2 separate regions of the Homo sapiens genome follow, and region 1 is linked to region 2. Evidence: promoter capture Hi-C in human tissues and cell types (Jung and others, 2019). All regions are on one chromosome and are shown on one strand. Each heading gives the region's core, a stretch centred on a gene start or on the middle of the fragment in contact. The rest is flanking DNA. Distances are from core to core; before and after follow the strand shown.

Region 1 (5,957 bases), core at 555-3,054, 1.4 Mb before region 2:
TATTGTAGACTCAGACCCTGTATCTTTCAGTTTGTGGAAGGGTGCCATACAGCCTATGGGCAATTTGGATCTTTGCTTTCTGACCTTCACCCTGGCAGAGGGGAGCCAGCTAGAGAGAGGAAATACAACATAAACAATGGCAGAGAAGGATGACTTATTTTCAGTTTAATGTGACAGGATAATCTGTTAAGAAATTAATTGCACCCGCTTCTCACTGCAGCAGACACCTCAGTAAAGGGCAAAAGGTCATTTCCTTTCCCCACACAGGCCCCTACCATCCCTTGCCCCTACTCCTATCCCCAGGATAGTTTTTAACTGACTTAGTTTTTGCAAAGTCTAAAAGTGTCTCAAACTCTGAAACGCACAAAAATTACCTGAGGGGATTCAAATGGATGTTTCTGGGTACCTCCTTGGACCAACCAATTAAGATTTCTGGGGATTGGAACCCCCATTTTAAACAAATTCCCTAAGAAATTCTGATCCAGGGGGTTTTAAGAACATTCTTTGAGAAACATTAGGCCAAAAAAGACATACACACACCACCACTGAAATACCCAGGTGGGCAACACAGGGGAGCTGAGGATCCAGGGGAAAGACCCAGATGTCAGAGCTTGCCGTTCATCCTGGCAGTCAGGGGTCACTGTCAGGTTTTAAGCGGGACTGTGATGTGGTAAACTCCACAGCTCATAGCCCACGTGTCACCTTCTCCAAGAAGCTTCCATCCTAGTCCAGAAGGGGTTCCTGCTCCTCCGTACTCCATAGTAGCCTTTCATACTTCTAACTCACCACTGACCACACTACCCTGACATGATCATTTGATGATCTTCCCTCCACCAGTAAGCTTCTGTGAGCAAGGACGTGCCTGGGTTCCATTTACCATGTCGCCACCAAATGGTCCTGATTTTTCACCATCAAATGATCCTGGAAGCAATGTCAGTGCCCCACAACTGCTTGCTCACTTGTCCTGGAATGCTTCATTTCTAGCACAGAAACTGGGCCCCATCTATCTGAACGCCTCATAAAACAGAAGCTATCCGCCTTATGGAAGGCATCAGAATGAAACAGCAGATGCCTGAAGTCTTGATCATATTCGAAGTTAGTTTACATTTTTGTGTTTCAGAAAGAACTAAAGGTCTCACAATCCTCCAAAGTCCACATGTGTAGGCCAAGCCCCTCAAGGCAATTAAAGGAATAGGAAAATGTACCCACAGCTGATTTCAGCATGAAAGCACGTGGTGTCCAGAGTCTTTTAAATCCTTAAAGCAAAACACCTGGATTCTGTTCCAGGCCGCCCCGCTCCCCACCCAGCTCCAAGCACCTGTTTCTATCTGACCAGCCCTCCGACTTTCTACCCCTCCCCGCTCAGAAGAGGCAAGAATTTTTAAATTCTGATTTTGTTTGTATAAAGATAGTAAGAAACATTCCGTGAACCAGGAATCATAAGGCTGCACCCCTGTGAGATCTCCCCCAAGAAAGTCCCTTCCATTCTCAGAGAATAAAATCGAAACACCAAATGGATGGAAACACAGTAACCACACCGTCCCTGGCAGGGCCGCCCCTGGCTGTACCTGAATTTCCTGTGTGTGGACTGTACCGGATCTACGGAGTCTGTGGCTCTTTCAGCTCCTTCTTCATCATCCGGTGCAGCCTTTGTGCTCTGGAGACCCTCAAATCAGTACGGGGGGCGAGCGCTGTGGCTCACGCCTGTAATTCCAGCAGTTTGGGAAGCCCAGGCGGGCAGATAACTTGAAGTCAGGAGTTCTAGCCCAGCCTAGCCAACGTGGTGAAACCCCGTCTCTACTAAAAATACAAAAAATTAGCCGGGCGTGGTGGCGGGCGCCTGTAGTCCCAGCTACTCGCGAGGCTGAGGCAGGAGAATCGCTTGAACCCGGGAGGCAGAGGTTGCAGTGAGCCGAGATCCCCCACTGCACTCCAGCCTGGGCGACAGAGCAAGACTCCGTCTCAAAAACAAAAACAAACAAAATCAGGAAGGGGACTTTGAAGCTCCTTAATACTGAGGCTTGGAGGGGCCCTAGCATGGGAGTTGGGCAACCCAGCGCTTCCCCTTTGAGGAGTGGCTCTAGAAATCGCCTTCCACAGTCCACAGGGAAGGGCTTTAGCCACGATCCAGGACTGAGTCCTCCATAGGGTGTGGGTGAGCCCCACGGCTGGGCCCAGCCCCCCGAAGACCACCGGGTAGCCTCGCTCCCGCCTCCCACCCCAGCCTCGCCCTCCAGCCCCGCCACGGGAGGGGCCGCCTGAAGGAGACCCGCACCTGGGCCTGGGCTCCTGGCTGGGGGGAGCGGAGCAGGCGGCGCCCAGGCCCGGGTCCTCCCCGCCCTCGCAGCTGCCCCAGCCGAGCCTCCCGGGCCGGCCTCGCCCTGGGGGTGGGGGTGGGGGTGAGGGGGCGCAGCCTCGGGCTACGGCTCCCCCGGCCCGGCCCGGCCCGTGCGGGCTGCACACCTGCCCGCCCGGCGAGGCTTCATTAGGCCGCGCCTGTGCATCACGGGCCGGCCGCGGCGGCGGGAGTCCAGGCCATGGAACCCACAGAGAATCCCTGCCAGGGACCGCTGGGTGAGTGTGGAGACCCCGTCGTGCGAGGGGGTCAGGCTTTGGGGGTTCGGGGAGGGGGGGAGGCCTGTGATCACCAGGTCAGCGTTAGCCGACCTAAGAGCTTCAGTAGGCCGAGGGCCGGGTGGAGTCGGGTGGGGTAGGGTGGGAGGAGGCCGACCTCACTGCCCCCTGTGCTTTGGGATTGCAACCCCCCTCCCCGCTCCCCCGCGCCCCCTGCCCGCCTCCAGTCTCCCAGCGCGCAGGGGAGAGAACCCTGGGAGCCCCAGGACCCTTCTAGTCTTAGGTCTGACACCCGTCCCCTTCTTACTAGCGCACATCACTCCCATAGGACACGTGCTTACGGAGCACCCACAGTGCTGGGTACCAGGCTTTTTGCTACAGTACAAGCTCTCCTAAAATGCTGTAAAACAAATTTGTCCCTGCTTCCCCACACCACCAGCCAGCTTTGTCCCTTCACTCCATAGAGGCCTGCTCACCCTCTTCACCAGCCCAGACCCTCTCATGCAAGTCGGGTCCAGCCTGTGTCCTAGGAAAGGACTTGGAACAGCACCCTTGACCATGACCTTTTTCCTTGACACTCTGTTACAAAGTCATTCCTAGGGTCAGGCGCAGTGGCTCAAGTCTGTAATCCCAGCACGTTGGGAGGGCGAGGCTGGTGGACCACCTGAGGTCAGGAGTTGGAGACCAGCCTGGCCAACATGGCAAAACCCCATCTCTACTAAAAATACAAAAATTAGCTGGGTGTGGTGGCACACACCTGTAATCCCAGCTACTTGGGAGGCAGAGGCACGAGAATCGCTTGAACCCAGGGGGCCAAGGTTGCAGTGAGCCAGAATTGCACCATGTCACTGCAGCCTGGGCGACGGAGCGAGACTCCATCTCAAAAAAAAAAAAAAAAAAAAAAAAAATGTTATTCCTTAAGACCTATCTCATGCAATTTTCATTAAAGTAACAGTAGCTCTTAGTCGTTACTTAGCATTCATTACAAATGTTCCAATTTAGTTGGAAATGATAAAGCAGCTCCCTGAGCTGAGGGTTCTTGGAGTTATGAGTCAGTTGGGAGGTGAAAGTGGGGGGATCATTTGATGGCCCCAGGAAGGACTCCATGTGGTGATTAAGTACACAGAGTACGTGCTCAGGGTGCTGTGTGATCTTGGACATATTACTCTGCTGTCTCATCCTCATTTCTTCATCTGTTAGAAGGGAATATTAGCAGTGCCGTTCTTGCAGAGATTAAATATGCACTGTGCTAATCTTTGAAAGGTGCTTAGCGCCATGCCTGGAACATGATAAGCTCCCAATGCATCAGTCAGCTCACAGAAAGGAAGGCAAGCTTTAGGGATGAGTGGTAGGGTTTTTAGTTCTAGCTGGGTCCCAGTTTCCTTACTCGAAAGAGAGGTTTACCAGAGAGTGAGATCCTGCTTTGCAGGGAGGGGGAGGAAGTGGATGTGCTGGATGGTAGTGGGGTGGGGGGTGCGGGCGGGGGGGCATGTATGGAGCTGAGGAGAGTTGGCAGAGACAGAGTTCCATGGTTCTCCCTGTTATCTCTTTTGATGCTCTTGCCTCGGCTGCTGGAGACAATCGAATCCTTTCTTGTCCCTTCTCCAAGCAATAATGCCTGTTGTGCAGCAGAAACAGCATCCCGCCTTGGGAGAAGCAGAATCTCTGTCAATCTGTTTCTCTTTGTCTTCCTGGTCCATCCGCAGCCCCAACATGATCCCTTAGAGATACCTGAACAGTCCCTCAAACTCATACCCCTGGTGTCTGGGAAAAGGGAACTCACAAGGGGTGAGTACCCCCAAATTAGGAGATACCATGAGCTAACGCCGTCTCAGAATTGCATAAATTTGTCTACATTTTTCAAAGAAGTTGGGTTATCTGATTTAATCCTCACAATAGTCAAGCTAGGAAGGTAAGTGTGGAATTATTACCCCATTTGATAGGTAGACAAATTAAAGCTTAAGATCAAACCGTTTGCAAAGCAGGAAGCAGCACTTCCTCTTGGTCCAGTTCTTCCTTCTCCCTGGTGCTAAGGTCAGTGGATGTTGGCTCCCCACAGGCCAGAAAGCTGGAGAGAAGCCCCTGGCTGCAGGACCCGGGGAGGAGGAACTGCTCCGGGGCTCAGCCCCTCATGCTCAGGACACTCAGAGTGAGGAACTGCCACCCTCCTGCACCATCTCAGGAGAGAAGAAGCCGCCAGCAGTCTCTGGAGAAGCCACCGGGGCTGATGCTGGGAGACTGTGCCCGCCCCCCCGCTCCAGGGCTCCCCACAAAGACAGAACTCTAGCCCGCTCCAGGCCCCAGACTCAGGGGGAAGATTGTTCCCTCCCAGTGGGAGAGGTGAAGATAGGAAAGAGGTCCTATTCTCCAGCCCCCGGGAAGCAGAAAAAGCCTAATGCCATGGGTCTGGCCCCAACATCATCTCCGGGTGCCCCTAACTCAGCCCGTGCCACACACAACCCAGTGCCCTGTGGGTCAGGCCGGGGGCCCTGCCACCTGGCCAATCTCCTCAGTACATTGGCGCAGAGCAACCAAAACAGAGACCACAAGCAGGGGCCCCCGGAAGTGACCTGCCAAATTAGGAAAAAGACACGAACCCTATACCGCTCAGGTAAGTCCCTAAAGAGAGGAAACCGAAGAGATCTGGGGTCATCCTGGGGAAAGGTGGGGCTGTGTGAAGAATCTACCCCCAGGAGACCTGAGGGATGGGGTTAGTTTGTATGTCACTTCGTCCCGGATTCTCTCTTGGGCCGCGGTAGTGCAACTATCTCTGACCCTCAGAGGGAAGGTTGGGTTATCACATCAGAAAATGAGGCTGGAGCCAGGCACAGTGGCTCATGCCTGTAATCCCAGCACTTTGGGAGGCCGAGGCAGGTGGATTACCTGAAGTCAGGAGTTTGAGACCAGCCTGGCCATCATGGTGAAACCCCGCCTCTACTGAAAATACAAACATTAGCCAGACATGCTGGCCTGTGCCTGTAATCCCAGCTATTTGGTAGGTCGAAGCAGGGGAATTGCTTGAACCTGGGAGGCAGAGGTTGCAATGAGCTGAGATTGCGCCACTGCACTCCAGCCTGGGCAACAGAGTGAGACTCCGTCTAAAAAAGAAAAAAAGAAAATGATGTTGGGACCAGGGTAGAAGAGTAAAGAAAGTAAACATACTGCTCTCTGCTGTAGCACCCAAGAGCGAGAAGGCCCAGCCCAATAGGAAAAAGGCTTTGGGAAAGTGTTGGGTTAGGGGCAGTGGCCCCATCTGTTGGAGATACTTGGTGAGCACCTCTCTTTCTCTTCACCTACCTGTCACTGGCATTTGTCCTCCTCACACAAGTTTCTTCTTCTTTCAGATCAGCTGGAGGAGCTAGAGAAGATATTCCAAGAAGACC
Region 2 (6,231 bases), core at 2,053-4,552:
AAATTATATGGCAAGTATTTGGGCTTGGGCAATTTAAGGAATTGGAAGAAAGATTAATCCCAATTTATACCCTTAGGCACCAATTGAAATTCTCAGATTTAACAGGTGTACTTAAAATACTTAAAATGAAAACAAAAATGCAGACAAATGTTTTGTAATTCCTACTTTTTCTGTCTTACTCCAGCATTAGACAGATTTCCAACTTACATTTTGTCAGTTCCTCCAGGTTGCAAACAGAACTGTGTACATAAGCTGTCCTTATGCTCTCTCTACTTTGCAGTGGTCCAGCTGGTAATCAGGGACATGCCATAGGAAAAAAAAAAGTCTGGAAGAATCTTGCTGGAATGCATACAGATGCACATATATCAAGAGGAGTGAAAACCTGAGACAATAGAACAGAATAGAGTTCGATTTAGGGGAGGGACCTCTTACAGTATTCTGTAGGGTCCACAGGACTAAACGCAGGAGCCTTTTTAAAATGAATGAAGGAGTCATCAGGCTTTTTAGAAGATATTTGGTGAAGTTAAGGCTTTGACCAAGACCAATATGCAGACTTTTTTGGGATATTGGTGCATGTTTTAGAGGCCAATTGTGGTGTCTCCTACTGGGGGAAAAGGGTTGATTTAGGCTCCGAATAACTAGAGAAACTTGAGAAAAGCCTAAGATAAACGACAGAGGTAGTTGACTGTTTAGAATCTGAGACATCTGGAAACCTAGACCTGAGGTTTTCAGGAAGGCAGCCCCAGTATTAAGAAGTCCCTGATTGGTAAGATTTCAGGTTTTCCCGTCAAACAAAAACTTTCAAAAGTTCTAAAACTTAATTGGTCAAAAAATGGGAATAACTTAAAGTTTGTTCTGCTCCCACTAGACTGATTGCCTGGGGACTCCCTGAACGTGGGCTAATTAAGAAGTAGTAACTCGGTGATTAAGTACCCTTGGGAAGAAGGGAAGAGGGAGGAGAGGGGAGAGAGAGAGGACCCTCAACTTTGCCCAACACTCATTTCTGGGCTTTTTCCTAAGCTCCTCTGGGAGGACATTTCCCTTCTTCGCCATGAGTGGGGATTGCAGCAACTTGTTCTGGCCCCTGTGCATGGCTCAGCACTAGCAGGACAGGAGGTAGCCTCAGCGGAGCCCTAGAGAACATCAGAAGAGGCGGCGAAGCCCCTCTGTAAAGGTGAGTGTCTTTCCAAGGGGTCTCCTCTATGAAGAAGAGGGTAAAAGCATTTTAGGATGGGACATCCTGGGCCTGCCTATCTTCTAGAACAAAGTCACCCAGATATTGAAGTGTGGGCTAGGGGAGCAGTAGAGTGTATAGGCTCATCTCCAGACCCTTCCTGCATAGCAGAGAGCACTTCCGGCTCCTCTTGGACCCAATGCTAACACAGTCACGGCTCCCTGACAGTCGGTGTCCTTCTCGCTCATGTTTCTTCATCTCGTGCTGGTTATGCAGAGGTTGTGGAAAACCAGAACACTGAGCTTTCCCATCAATTCTGTCCCTGAAGCTTTTTAAACCATTAGTAAAACAGTGACGTAGACAGGGAAGGGGTTACCTAAGCAAGGGAAGGGCAGGAGGGAAAATGGTAATGTGAGGCAGGAAGGAAAACCAACCAGAATAGGATTGAGGGAATGTGGCCCAGGCCCTGGCCAGAACAAGTATTATTTAATCATATATTATCCATCCATCCATCCATACCTCATCTAGCAAAATTTGTCAGCACTACTTATTTTATGTATATGATACATATATCTTATGTATTTAAATATCTTATAAATAAAAAATATATGTATATTTTATATAATATAAGATATATTTCATATATCTTATTTCATATATCTTATATAAATAAGATAAATAATATAAGATAATAATATAATATAAGGTGTGGTAGTTAGCTGTGTGAGTGATGAAATCTGACAGACCTAGGTTCAAATCTTGACTCACACAGCTATTAGTTCGGTTACCTTGTGATAAATTAATACATAATTTAATATATAAGATATATCTATGATATATTCATTTCACATAATGTATCTGTCTATATCTATATAAAAGATATATGATATATATATATAAAATATATAACTACTTAATTTATGTATGTACATTTTATGTGCCAGCCTCAGAATACAACAGTGAAGACATGTCCTAGCCCTCATGGAGTTTATATTCTAATGCCGTTGATAAATAATAAATACACTTAAATTTCCTCTCCTTCTTTCTTGCTTATTTTTTTCCCTGTGACATGATAAGCAAACTAAACTATTGCATATTTTACTTAGGTGTCTTGTGTGTGGTCTAGCCCCCACCTCTTCCTTGAATATAAGCTCCACAGGGCATGGAATTTTCTTTGTTCTGTTCATGACTACATTTGTTTATTGTTAAATAAAGGAATGAAGTAAATAATTAGACATAATACAAGGTAATAACAACTGTTATTAAAAAAATGGAAGTCCAATAATAAGTGTGTCTTTTCTGTTTTGGGCAGAGTGATTGGAAAGAGTCTTTGGAAAGGGTGACATTTGAATAATGGAATGAAGCGACAGGCAGAGAGCCAGGCATCCTTAACAGCTGGCGGTCCCAGATCTATTCCTTTTCTGTGCCAGGTGCCATCTTTCCTTCCTCCCACAACTTTGGAAGGAAAATGGAATTAGAGAAGAATGGATCTGTTCTGGGAAATTATCCCAAGCTCTAGAGTTCTCATTTAGAGATCTTGCTGTTCTGTAAAATGGAGATTTTAAAATCTGGAACAGCAGAGATGTTAGTCTTACATCCTCTGCCTCCTTTCTGCTGGCCCCAAAGGTGGGTCTATGCATTACCATTACAGATGAGAGCTGGGGTTTAAAATTCTGTCCTTTGAACATCATATAAAATGCCTTTGTGTCATCTTGCACAGTTAACCTAAGAGAAAGTAACTCCAGGACCGGAGGGACCTGATTGACTCACCTTTAAAACTGGCCTATTTAAAAGGTCTTAGCCTCTGCCCCCGAGAGAAGGTATATTTAATGGGGAAAAAGGCAAGGAAGGTATTTCACCACCAGTAGAAGAAGATGTCTTCACCCATTCTAGGGGGCTGGTTACACAGGGAAGTGAGAGCCTCACTTGTAGACTTGGGATGACAACATGTACCTCAAGCTATGTATGTGCCGACCACAGTAGCAGGGACATGTCACCTGATTCTCAGGTTGGAAATAGTTTCTTAACCTAATTTTTCTTCCTTCTCTCTTGAGAGCAGGACCATGTGGAGCAATGCCACCTCTCTTTTAATCTCTGGGCTTCAAAACAAGCAGAATCAAGGACTAAATGATGGACAACCACTCTAGTGCCACTGAATTCCACCTTCTAGGCTTCCCTGGGTCCCAAGGACTACACCACATTCTTTTTGCTATATTCTTTTTCTTCTATTTAGTGACATTAATGGGAAACACGGTCATCATTGTGATTGTCTGTGTGGATAAACGTCTGCAGTCCCCCATGTATTTCTTCCTCAGCCACCTCTCTACCCTGGAGATCCTGGTCACAACCATAATTGTCCCCATGATGCTTTGGGGATTGCTCTTCCTGGGATGCAGACAGTATCTTTCTCTACATGTATCGCTCAACTTTTCCTGTGGGACCATGGAGTTTGCATTACTTGGAGTGATGGCTGTGGACCGTTATGTGGCTGTGTGTAACCCTTTGAGGTACAACATCATTATGAACAGCAGTACCTGTATTTGGGTGGTAATAGTGTCATGGGTGTTTGGATTTCTTTCTGAAATCTGGCCCATCTATGCCACATTTCAGTTTACCTTCCGCAAATCAAATTCATTAGACCATTTTTACTGTGACCGAGGGCAATTGCTCAAACTGTCCTGCGATAACACTCTTCTCACAGAGTTTATCCTTTTCTTAATGGCTGTTTTTATTCTCATTGGTTCTTTGATCCCTACGATTGTCTCCTACACCTACATTATCTCCACCATCCTCAAGATCCCGTCAGCCTCTGGCCGGAGGAAAGCCTTCTCCACTTTTGCCTCCCACTTCACCTGTGTTGTGATTGGCTATGGCAGCTGCTTGTTTCTCTACGTGAAACCCAAGCAAACACAGGGAGTTGAGTACAATAAGATAGTTTCCCTGTTGGTTTCTGTGTTAACCCCCTTCCTGAATCCTTTCATCTTTACTCTTCGGAATGACAAAGTCAAAGAGGCCCTCCGAGATGGGATGAAACGCTGCTGTCAACTCCTGAAAGATTAGCTGTTCTGTAAGTCAGTTTTAGGTGGTCCAAGCCTCAGGGTTAATTATTAAGTCACCTAGAAAATTCTAACTCCTCTTTTCTCTTATCCTCTCATTACAAAAGTCAAAGAGTGTGTACAATTCGCCATCACACCATGGAAGTAGATTAGGCTGGTAATAATGAAATCCATTGTCTGTCCAGGAGACTCTCATAGCCTTAGTTCCTGCCTGTTTCCACTGTTGAACATATTCTTGTGATTTGGGGGGGACTAGAGAAAGGAAATGCAGACATTTTTGTAAGAATTCTATTAGCCCAACTCATTTCCTCATAGTCCATCTCTGAAAATGTATTTTCTGGGGAAGGGAGGAAGTGTGGAGGGAGGTGTACTGAGAAAGGTGTCCTAATCAGAGTAGAAAGGTAGAGATGCTCACTTTGGTCCTTCATCACCTGTTGCTAAGTTCTTCCCTATATTTTTGTGCAATTTTTTGGCAAGATGGCCATATGCATTTTAGATATCCTAAAGCTCTTTCTCTCTGCCCCATTGATACTGGAAAGGAAGTGTAACACTGTTTACGTTTTGTCACAGAACCAGTCTAGAATGGCGATATGAGGATTGGAATGCTTCTCATTCAGGAGATATTTGTGGTGTAAAGAAGATAAAAATATTTGAGGATAAAAATGGAGGAAAATTTATTTTTGTTAAGCTTCAGCATATTCCTTTCACTGCCCTTCTTTGTGGTGAGTATAGGGACAGGGGCAAATAAGAACTAAATGACTAATTCTAGAGAGCATCCTGTATTTTATGGCTGTTAAACACAACTATGTCTGTTCAGACTGTATCCAGATCTAGACTTCAAACTTTATAATGTCTTTTGATTCTCCGTCTCTCAAATCCAACAGTCTCAGTACCATCATGTGTATCTTCTCTGTGGGCAGAATTTTTTAAAAATAAGAGGCCATTCTTTTGACTCCCGGCTTTCTAGAAATTATAGGGATTGGCTGTTTGGTAGTGTAACTGTTGGAATTTCACATAATATTGGAAGAAGTCCTTATAAGGAAGAAGTTTACCTAAACAACAACAATCAGCAGATTCTACCAGCCCTAAAGTAAGTGAGAAAATTGAGCTGTTCAGCAGTGGGATGATGAGGCTACTGAGAATTTTGAAGAGTACTGTGTGAGGATGCCAGGTTGTCTTGTCCTGTGAGGAGTGATAACCGTCATGTATGTTTGGGTAGTTTGCATTGCATTAAAGTACCAGACAAGGTGGGGAATGAGCTTTAAATTCAGCCAGCCCATGCTCTGCAAGCCAACCAATGGACTCTGGTGGCACTGCATTGGCTGGAGAAAGGGGAGACTTTTGCTTAAACAAAGGTGCCCATGGTTTCCAAGCCCAGTAAATGAGGATCTGTTCTGACCAGAAAGAATACCTTTTTTCTAATTCATTAATCCAGAGAAGTATCCTTTAAGAGATGAGACAATAGAAGCTCAGAGAATTTAAATAACTTGCCAAAGTTTACTTAGCCATCCACTGTATCACATCCATCAGATTGGAAAAACATAAAACTCTGAGAATACTAAGTATTGATCTGAATGCTGGCGAATAGGGTTTTTAAAAAACCAACTTCTGGTAGAAATATAAGATATAAGATCCAAATAATTAGATAGTAGATGTCTATAATTAGGTTCTAGTATAGTCATAATAAGATAGTGGTAGTCCATTTTGCATTGCTATAACAGAATATAAATAATACCAGCCTGGATTATTTGCAAAGAAAATAAACATACTTGGCTTATGATTCTGGACACTGAAAATTTATTTGGCTTATGATTCAAGAGCATAACACCGGCATCTGACAAGGGCCTTGGTGCTGTGTCATCCTATGGCAGAAGGTGGAAGGGCAAGAGAGGGCCAGAGTGAGAGGGCAAGAGAGGGCCAAACTCATTTTCATAACAAATCCACTCTCAGAATAACAAACTCACTCCTGTGAAAACAACACTAATTCATTCATGAGGGGAT

Evidence for each region. Contacts are between HindIII fragments. The study calls those that stand out against the background at their distance.
Region 1: a contact is called between a fragment that was not itself captured here and the fragment with the promoter of OR9A2 in region 2, in 1 of the 25 tissues and cell types used here (spleen).

Annotation. Positions count from the first base shown.
Region 1 is chr7:144,400,274-144,406,230 of GRCh38, reverse strand. NOBOX (NOBOX oogenesis homeobox) reads left to right here and starts at 2,538. Exons shown (of 8, transcript NM_001436401.1): 1 at 2,538-2,574; 2 at 4,634-5,185; 3 at 5,919-5,957. The coding sequence starts at 2,538. The HindIII fragment of the contact is 4,832 bases long and covers 1-4,220 here.
Region 2 is chr7:143,024,203-143,030,433 of GRCh38, reverse strand. It overlaps OR9A2 (olfactory receptor family 9 subfamily A member 2), which reads left to right and starts at 3,302. Exons shown (of 1, transcript NM_001001658.1): 1 at 3,302-4,234. The coding sequence starts at 3,302. The coding sequence ends at 4,234. It overlaps LOC105375544 (a long non-coding RNA gene), which reads left to right. Exons shown (of 2, transcript XR_001745395.1): 2 at 1-1,174. The HindIII fragment of the contact is 7,003 bases long and covers 1-6,231 here.